Regions from separate parts of the Homo sapiens genome. Here all the other regions are linked to region 2. The links are contacts of gene promoters, found by promoter capture Hi-C in blood cells and fetal thymus (Javierre and others, 2016). All regions are on one chromosome and are shown on one strand. Each heading gives the region's core, a stretch centred on a gene start or on the middle of the fragment in contact. The rest is flanking DNA. Distances are from core to core; before and after follow the strand shown. Region 1 overlaps ENOX2 (ecto-NOX disulfide-thiol exchanger 2). Region 2 holds the start of BCORL1 (BCL6 corepressor like 1). Region 3 has its middle 14 kb from the start of ENOX2.

The links. Contacts are between HindIII fragments. The CHiCAGO score rates a contact against its expected background, and 5 or more counts as called.
Region 1: a fragment that was not itself captured here is called in contact with the fragment with the promoter of BCORL1 in region 2 in 3 of 17 cell types (total B cells, naive CD4 T cells and fetal thymus); the score reaches 6.3 in total B cells.
Region 3: a fragment that was not itself captured here is called in contact with the fragment with the promoter of BCORL1 in region 2 in 1 of 17 cell types (naive CD4 T cells); the score reaches 5.3 in naive CD4 T cells.

What each region holds. Positions count from the first base shown.
Region 1 is chrX:130,898,191-130,901,191 of GRCh38, reverse strand. The region is part of intron 2 of ENOX2 (ecto-NOX disulfide-thiol exchanger 2); the gene reads left to right. Among named protein-coding and RNA genes, the nearest start is that of ENOX2, 3.5 kb to the left of the region's middle. The HindIII fragment of the contact is 3,898 bases long and covers 1-3,001 here.
Region 2 is chrX:129,981,222-129,984,277 of GRCh38, reverse strand. It overlaps BCORL1 (BCL6 corepressor like 1), which reads right to left and starts at 1,643. Exons shown (of 14, transcript NM_001379451.1): 1 at 1,516-1,643. RefSeq lists a silencer at 578-814. The HindIII fragment of the contact is 8,398 bases long and covers 1-3,056 here.
Region 3 is chrX:130,915,938-130,919,306 of GRCh38, reverse strand. No RefSeq gene overlaps it. Among named protein-coding and RNA genes, the nearest start is that of ENOX2, 14 kb to the right of the region's middle. The HindIII fragment of the contact is 4,302 bases long and covers 1-3,369 here.

The DNA.
Region 1 (3,001 bases), core at 246-2,745, 920 kb before region 2:
GTTCATCATCCTGGCCAAAACCCAAATGATTCACTTAAAATTTCTATGTCAGAATGTATTTGCTGTAAAGTAGCTGCCAAAACCAAATTAACTGTCATTGCAACTGTAGCTAATTGTGTCTGCCAAAACCATAGTCAGTACGGCTATTTCTGAATTAGATGATTCTCTTTATAACACATATCATACCTCTAAGCTATTTGGACCTTGATAGCACTTTGGATGTATTTTATTTTAGCATTTTAAGAAGTTACCTGGGACACTAGATCTCTTTCATGACCTCTGCCCACGTGAAGTGTTGGAGAAACAATGAAGTACAAGGTGTGAACTCTTCCTGGGGTCTAGCTGGGGAGCTGGATGCCCACAGTTCTGAGATACTGTAGTGTGTAGTATAACAGAGACAGGTACAAAATGCTATGGAGGGATAAAGGAAGGTGTGACTCACTGTAAGGGAGACTCGGGGAGAAGGCTTCCATGAGGAGGTGACATGAGATAGGTCTTGAAGGATAGTGAGTTTGCCCCAGGCAGGGAAGGAGTGGAGGGGAGGCATTTCAGATAGAGGAGTCAGTCTGTGAAAGATGTGTGGCTGTATAAGAGTAGGGCATGTTCATTCAATGTGGAAGAATTCAGCATGGTTGGAGTGCAGATAGTTGAGTAAAAGGAAACTGTAATGGGTAGGAGAAGAGTCTGGAAAGAGGTTGGGGCTGATTTGCAAAGAACCTTGATTGCAATCCTAAGTTGGAATGTGCCCCCATAGGTCAGTGGTTCTCAAAACGTAGGGCATCTGCCAGTGGTAGTTACACTGTGCTCCCACAAACATTTTAATTTTACTAGTTACATGTTCAAATATGTCTTAAAAAACATAAAACTGAACTAAGCCATCACATCTAAGATTACTTTGGATTTTACTTCATAAAAATAGAAAGTGAACCAGTTTTCAGTTCATTTAAAGACAAATATTAAGTAGTAATAGTACACATTGTGTGTGAATATGGTAAAAATCACTAAGTAATACTCAGACTGAAATTTGGGAAGTGCTGCTTGTAGGCCATAAGAAACCATTAACATGTTTTAGAAGAGCACCACGATCAGATTTTTACTGTAAGGAAAATGACAGTGGGAAGGATACAGTGGAGGTGGATATGATGAGGCTGCTACTCTGTTCCACAGAGAGACAATAAAGACCCAAGAGTAGTGACGTGAGCGGAGCGAAGAGATTTGAGAAACATTTAGGAGGTAAAATTATTAGGACTTGGTGGATGTTAATATTATTTTGTCAGTGTTACCAGAATTGTTTTAAAAGTCTGCATGCCCCCCTTGCCTCTTGTCCTTTATATTGTATGGTGAGCAATAATATTGCCAAAACATGCTATGTTTCTATGTTCATTAAGATTACAATGGAAGCTATAGTTACCACTCGAGTGGATTTGGATTACACACAAACATCCTTCCCACCTTACTCAGTGTCCTTGAGAGCAGTAGCACAAATATTCAAGGCACTGATTAGGAATATGACCATGATCTGTGACCCTTAGGCATGCAAGAAATTCCTCAGCCTTTAAGACTCAGCTCATATGTCAACACCTCTGTGAAGCCTTCCCGACAGCCCTTGCCCAACATACATGAATGCACGCACAAGGCAATGTTAGGCCTCGGGCTTCCACAGGACCCTGCACTTAGTTACCTCCGTCCTAGCCTGTACCACACTGTAGGGTGTCGGTCTGTGGATGTCTCTGTGTTCCCCACTAGACTGTGAACTCCTTGAGGGCAGGGACCAGGTTTCATTCATCTCCATACCCATAGCATCCAGAAGAGCACTTGACACATGGTAGTCACCTAATAAATGGTTATTGGGTGAAAAGAATTGATAAACAGATTTGCATGAATATAACTGGGGACCTTGGTAGCACAGAGTGCCAAATGCTATGAAAAGACTAGCTGTTTGCTACATTTGCTACTTTTGCTGAAGAAAGGAGTAAATTAAAGTGCCCATAATTTCATGAAAGACCTACTTTTTCCCTCTTTTCTTCACTCTCCCCTGGTTATCTTACCTTTTTCTTTCCTATCATTTACCTATCCAGGCACCTATTCCTTAGCCCTGCCCATTACTTTGCTGCTCTTGACAGAGTTCATCTTCCTCCTGCCCTGATACTTTGCCAGGAAACATCCTTCCTTCTACCCACCCAAGTCCAGTACACTCCGTCCTTGACATCACTCTCAAGTTCATCTCCTACTCATAGACTCTGCTGCTGGGACTATAATTTGATACAGCTCTTCTGGAGAGCAATTCGTCAATATGTATCAGAAACCTTAATAGAATACAGCTTTTAACCTACCACTTCAACTTCTAGAGCTCTATGCTGAGGAAACAATCATGATGTTTCCAAAAATTTAATACTCAGGACATCTATCCCAGAGTTGTTTATACTAATAGCAAAAACAACAAAAAAAAAAAAAAGAAAAAAAAGAACATCTTAAATGTACAATACTAGGGATTTGAATGAAATCAATTGTGGTACATTTATAGAATGGATTACTAAGTAGCCTTGTAAGTTGATTTTACCAAACAATATTTAATGATGTGGAAAATTGTTTTTGATATATTAAGAGAAAATTCACATCATAGAACTCTCAGTACAGAGTGACAGATCCCAGTTTAAAAACATATACATAATACACACACACACACGCACACACACACGCACACGCACACACACATCTGTGTAGGCATACATAGGAAAAATCCTGTAATGGTAAACACACAAAAAAATATTAATAGGGGTTTGCTGCAAGTAGTAAGATTGCATATGACTTCTACTTTTAACCTTTTGCGTATTTTTATTTTCTAATCTACAGTATATTTGTTAATTTTTAAAAAGTTATTTTGACCAGGCACAGTGGCTTAACACCTGTAATCCCAGCACTTTGGGAGGCCAAGGCAGGCGGATCACCTGAGGTCAGGAGTTTGAGACCAGGCTGGCCACCATGGGGAAACCCCGTCTCT
Region 2 (3,056 bases), core at 394-2,893:
GGGACTCTCTTTGGCCTCCGTTCCCCGCCCAGAAGCGGCGGCGGCGGCGGCGGCAACGGCTGCGGCGGCCCCAGCAGGAGCAGCAGCGGCGGCGGCGGCAGCGGCGGCGGCAGCAGCGCCGCCCCCGGCCCCGCCCCGCCGCCCGCCGGAGCCCCACGCCCCGCCCGCCCGCCCCGCCGCCGGACTGCTCCCCCCGAAGCCCACCACTAAGCCCTCCCACTCCCCGGCCGCGATCCGCTCGAATCCAGCTCCGCTGGGCCTGCTGTCCGTCCCTCACGCCCCTTAGGACCCGGGGTGGGGGAGCCCTGGGGTTCGCGGCCATCCCTCTCCCTCCTTCTCCAAGGGCCGGGGGATTGCCCCTGATCCCGAAACCCGGCCCCGTAACCGGAGCCTCCCTCCTTCCAGCCCTCGGCTTCGCTCGCCGACCCCTTGCCTCCAGGCCTGGCGCGAAGCGGGTGGAGGGCTTGCACGCCGGATCTCCCCTCTGGCTTGCCGGTGCTAGTATGAATTGCCCCCGATCTCATCTTCCTTCAATTTAAGCCCCCTCCCCGCCGCGCCCGGCCCGGCGGCCCCCGCCCCTAGAGCGAGGGCAGCGGAGCCAGGGCGCTCCGAAGTCATCCCCCGCCTTTTTTCCAGGGACTCGGATAATTGCCCCTGCCCCCATCACAGCACTCCCACTCCCGAACCCAGGCCCCGCCGCCACCTAGGGGTACCCCTTACCCTACGATTCCCGCACCCCAGCGCCGGGAAGAAAGCAGCCCTGAAGAGCACCCGTCGCACCTCCCCTCTGAGGTTGGAGGGCATTTTCTCCCGGTCTCTTCAACACTTCATCACGGACACCCCCCCCCCCCAAAAAAAAGCCTTTTCTCGCCCTGCCCTGCTAGCCAGCCTCCCTTCGGATCGTCGGATCCTTGGATCGGGGGTTGGAGTCAGGTAGTTAACAAGACCATAGCCTCCACCTCCCTTTCCGAGGAGTGGGGTAATTCCTATGGTTTCCCCCCCAGGATCAACCGACCCCCGTTTCCATGGAGACCCCCGCCCAGCCGGGAAGAAGACTCTCTTGGATCGTGGCGAACGAGTCTCACCTGGCTAAGAGAGAAGGGGGTCGAGAAGGGGGTAGGGCAAGTCAGGGGATGGGGTACGAAGGTGGGAAGTGGAAGGGAGCTGTCCCGAAGGGAGGGGCGAAGACATACCCAGCTCCAGGGAGCGCTACGTCCGGGGACACGAAGAGGACGGCGCCCCCGGGGGGCAAGCCGAGCGGCCGCAGGGAAAAGAAGGAACAGGGTTGGAGAAAGGCTTAAGATAGAAAGAAGCGGGTGGGGGGATACGAAAAAGCCGGGGAGTCAAAAGGGGTGGAGGGATTGGGGGAGAGAGAAAAAAGACGCACCTGTTCCCGGGTCGGCTCCGCGGGGAGGCTCAGGCCGCCACCCGGGCTCCCTCTTACTCCCTCTTAACCGCCACCCGCCTAATACTGCCCCGATCTGATGCCCCCCTCCGCCCCTTATCGCCACCGACCTCCTTCTCCTCTCTCTCGGCGGCGGCGGCGGTCGGACTCTAGGAACTGAGAGGAAGAAGGGAGGGCTCAGCAAAGCGGAGGAGAGACAGAGCCACACACTGGCAGCAGCCGCGGCGAGCGAAAGAGTGAGGGGGAGAGCGGTGTGTGTGTGTGTCTGTGTGCGAGCGAAGCCTGGTGGAGTGGGTGCCGGTCGCAGGGCTCGACGGGAAGTGGAGTCCGGCTGGGTCCGCGGGCGGCGCCAACCCCCGCTCCACCGGACTACAACTCCCAGAATGCGGCCTACGCGGGTGGGGGGGAATGGGGAGGAGGAGGCGAAGGGAGGGAGCGAGCAAGAGAGGGAGGGACGAAAGCAGGGAGCAAGCGGCGGCGAAGGGGGCAGAGCCAAGCAGCCCCGGTGACACTGGGAGGGGAGGAGAGGAGGAGGGGATCGCTGAGAGGACCGAGCGGATTCCGGAGAGGGAGGCAGCAGTGGCTGCAGCAAGCCGGGCAAAAAGCTAGACTCCTGGGAGAGGCGGAGGCGCTCAATCTGCGGGGCTGCAGGAGCCCCACGTCCCCCCCCACCTCGACGCCCCTCGAAGGGGGAGGTTGAGGAAGGGAGAGGGTCAGTGAGCCGCGGCCAAAGGGTTCTCTCTCTTTCTTCCAACGTTCTCCACCTTATGCCCCGACCTGACTTTCTCAGGCCACTGGTGCCGATCCAGTGTGCAAATCTCGAGACCCCAGATCTCCTCTGCCGGGCAGCGGAGAACAGACGCATTCAGTCCCCTTCTCCCAGGGGCCTGAGGGAGGCTCCCCTTGCAGGCAGGGCGTGACTCCCCCTTCTTCCCGCTCCCCCCCCCACCGTCGTCGCCACCCCCCCATCTCCCTCCCCGGAACCCCTCCCCTGAAGCCGGGGCTCGCCTCTCTCTCTCCCCGCCAAGACACGGAGTCCTTCTGGGGACGACTACCCAGCCCCCTCCCTTATACTGGGCCCCTACCCACCAGTATCCCCTTCTTAGCGTTGCCCCCTCACCGAAATAATGGTGGGGGCGACCCGAGTTGGACTGGTGGCTACTTTCCCTCCAAGGCTAGCCGTCCTTCGCCACGCCGACCCTGTGTAGAAATAGAGAAGCATATTAATACTCCCGTCCCCCCTCCCCCCCAGATTTGAATACCCGTGGAAGTGGCTCACAAGAAAGAGGGGTTGGTAGTGGAAGTGAGCTAGGGGTGAATCCCAATCTTCAAACCTCATCCCTCCCATGGAAATCCAGGTATTCGCCTTTTGCTTAAAAGCCATTAAATCGCTTGGGTGGGGGGTAAATTATCTAAACCCCAATGTCCATGCGACTCGAAGCGACGCTACCTTGTAGGAATAAGATACGAACTAGGTTGCCGCCACGGGAAGGAAAGTATCCCCCACCCCCGTCGCCGTCCACCCCCAAAAACACATACCCCTAGGAGAGTCAGATGGCTGAAGAAGGGGGAAGGCGGTGGGAGTGCTGGAGAGTAAAAGGACTGTGGCGGGGAGGGTCCGCGGCCCCCACTACGAGAGCAGAATCCAGAT
Region 3 (3,369 bases), core at 534-3,033, 930 kb before region 2:
CAAAGCCACAGAGGCAGAGTTGCCCAAGACCATGGGAACCCACCTCTTGCATCAGCGTGAACTGGACGTGAGACATGGAGTCAAAGGAGATCATTTTGGAGCTTTAAGATTTGACTGCCCTGTTGGATTTTGGACTTGCATGGCACCTGTAGCCCCTTTGTTTTGGCCAATTTCTCCCATTTGGAATGGTTGTATTTACCTAATGTCTGTACCCCCACTGTATCTAGGAAGTAACTAACCTGCTTTTGATTTTACAGGCTCATGGCAGAAGGGACTTGCCTTGTCTCAGATGAGACTTTGGACTGTGGACTTTTGAGTTAATGCTGAAATGAGTTAAGACTTTGGGGGACTGTTGGGAAGGCATGATTGATTTTAAAATGTGAGGATGTGAGATTTGGAAGGGGCAAGGGGTGGAATGACATGGTTTGGCTCTGTCCCCACCCAAATCTCATCTTGAATTTCCATATGTTGTGGGAAGGACCCACTGGGAGGTAATTGAATCATGGGAGCAAGTCTTTCCTGTGCTGTTCTCGTGATAGTAAGTCTCATGAGATCTGATGGTTTTAAAAAGAGGAGTTCCCCTGTACAAGCTCTCTCTCTCTTTGCCTGTTGCTATCCATATGAGACATGACTTGCTCCTTCTTGCCTTCCTCCATGATTGTGAGGCTTCCCCAGCCACGTGGAAATGTAAGTCCAATTAAACCTTTTTCTTTTGTAAATTTCCCAGTCTTGGGTATGTCTTTATCAGCAGTGTGAAAATGGACTAATATAATGAGAAAAGACATGAGATGATAGGAGGAATTTAAACACAAAATATATATTTGATCATATGAAAGAATTAGTATTAATTTTACAGCTGTGATAACAGTATTTTAGTCATGTTTTGTTAAAAGTCCATATCTTTTAGAGATGCAGCCTGAAAATGTTGTGGATAAAATAAAATGATGTGTGGAATTTACTTATAATAATCCAGTTTTGTGGGAGGGGGTGAATGGGAGAACAGATGAAATAAGATTGAGTATGTGCTAACTGTAATTGAAACTAGGTAATGGGTAAAAGGGACTTCATTATACTATTACTTCTATTTTTCATTTGATTGAACTTTTCCACAATAAAAAGGAAAAATAAATACCCTCCTCCCTTCATTCTAAAACAGCATAGGTTTTGCGGCCATACAGAGTTCCCCTACTGATTAGCTGTGTGACTATAGAGAGGTTGCCTAACCTCCCTGATCCTCAGTTATCCTCACTTTCAAACGGCAATATTTAGAGACCTGCCTCACAGAAGTTGGAAGGATTAGATAAAATTCTGTTGTCAAGCACTCAGCATAGGGCCTAGCTAACATATAGCAGGTGCTCAATGTTTTCTGATTTCTTTTGCTTCTCCTATTTTTTTTAAACCAAGACATTTCCTAATTCCTCAATCAACATATAGATGGAATTTATTTTTTGTCTTTTATTCCCTATGGGACAGTGTTTTCTGAAAGACTCACCAACATGCTCCCCACCTGAGGACTTTAGAAGACCTGGAGATAGGGGTGGGGAGAAACGAGTAATGCTGGCATATCAGGACTCCTGGGGGCAAATGCCATTTTGTCCCACAAAGCTCTGGATAGAATAGGTGCCTAAAATGTGCTTACTGGCTGAGACAGTGGGTAGGTGAATTCTAGATTGCTTTTGTTTTGTTTCCCCATATTTGAAGGTGGATAAGGTAGAGATGGTGGTGTATATGACACTTCTCCTTCCCTTTTCTCCCACTGGCATCAAAGCCTACTTGACTCAGATTTGAAGTACTTAAGGATCCTCCTTCATATCTCTAATTTCACATCATATCACAATATTGGCAACAACTACAATTTATGGCATAATGATTAAAACCTTGAACATTGTCTCTGCCACTAACGCTGAGCCTCACTTTAACTTATCTGCAAAATGGGGATGCTACAAAGTGTGGCTGGAAGAATTAAATTTTAAAAAATTCATGAAAAAGTTAATAACACAGTCTGGCATGTGGTAAGTAGTAAACACTACCTTTTGATGCTGTTACAGTTGGCCTGTAGATCAGGGTCTTTACATATATTATCTCTAACGGTCTACACTCTTTGACTCCATCAGCCTCACCAGGAACCCAATTTTCCTGTGGGTGCACTGGGTCCCCTCAGTGCCTGCCCACTACAGCACTAATCATCTGGTCCAGCTTCACTTCCCCTCTCCTCCCTTCCAAACTGAACTGCCCAATTTCCTAGATCCCATCTCATTACCTCTTGTTGTCCACCAGGTGGCACCAGAGAATGCGAAAAGCCCATAAGCTCTGCACCAAACTTCCCAGAGGCGTTTGAATTCTGTGGGGGGCTTCCTGGACAACCAAACAAGACTTTGTTATGGGAGAAGAGTTTTTATTTTTTATTTAAGGTCTACCCCAAACCACCGTGCATGGGCCATCCTAGCCCATTGACTAAGGTTACAGCCCTGCCCATACTTTCATCCGTGTGTTTCCACCTTCCCTCATCCTTCCTTTCCAGCACTTGGGCCAGGAAGCTCTTCTCTAAGACAAAGTATCCCATTGCCACACTTTCAAAAGGCTGTATAAGTCCTCTTAATTCTTTTTGCTCGGGAAGAGTTGCTCTTCTAACCATCTCTCCCTATTTCCCCAAAGCCACTCCTTGGTACTTCCTGGAAGATGTCCCACTGAGGACATGTCTATGAGGCTGATAGGGGCAGAAAGAAAGATTAGTTAGCTATGGTTGGCTAGATTTCCAAGGTACCTTGACTCCAGAATTATATAGAACATTATATATAGAACATTATTGGAATAAAATGTTATTCCCAGGCAAGGCAGATCAAGGTGAGTTTCAGGGTACAGGGAAAGAATGAAGACAAGAAAAAAAAAAAAAAAACTCTGGCCAGGTGCAGTGGCTCACGTCTGTAATCCCAGCATTTTGGGAGGCCAAGACAGGTGGATCACCTGAGGTCAGGAGTTCGAGACCAGCCTGGCCAACGTGGTGAAACCTCGTCTCTACTAAAAATAGGCATCTCGTGGCAGGCGCCTGTAATCCCAGCTACGCGAGAGGGTGAGGCAGGAGAATTGCTTGAACCCTGGAGGCAGAGGTTACAGTGAGCTGAGATCGCGCCACTGCACACCAGCCTGGGCAACAGAGTGAGACTCTGTCTCAAACAAACAAACAAACAAAACAAAAACCTCTGAGAAAAATTGGTGGCTGGAGAGTGCTTAATACGCTTCAGTTTCCACAACTTTAAAAGAAAATAATAATAATTGCTATCATAATAAGGTTATAATAAGGCAAAAAAGAGTTATTCCTTGTAAAGCGCTTGGAACAGCACCTAGCATGTAGTAAGTGCTATCTTTAAT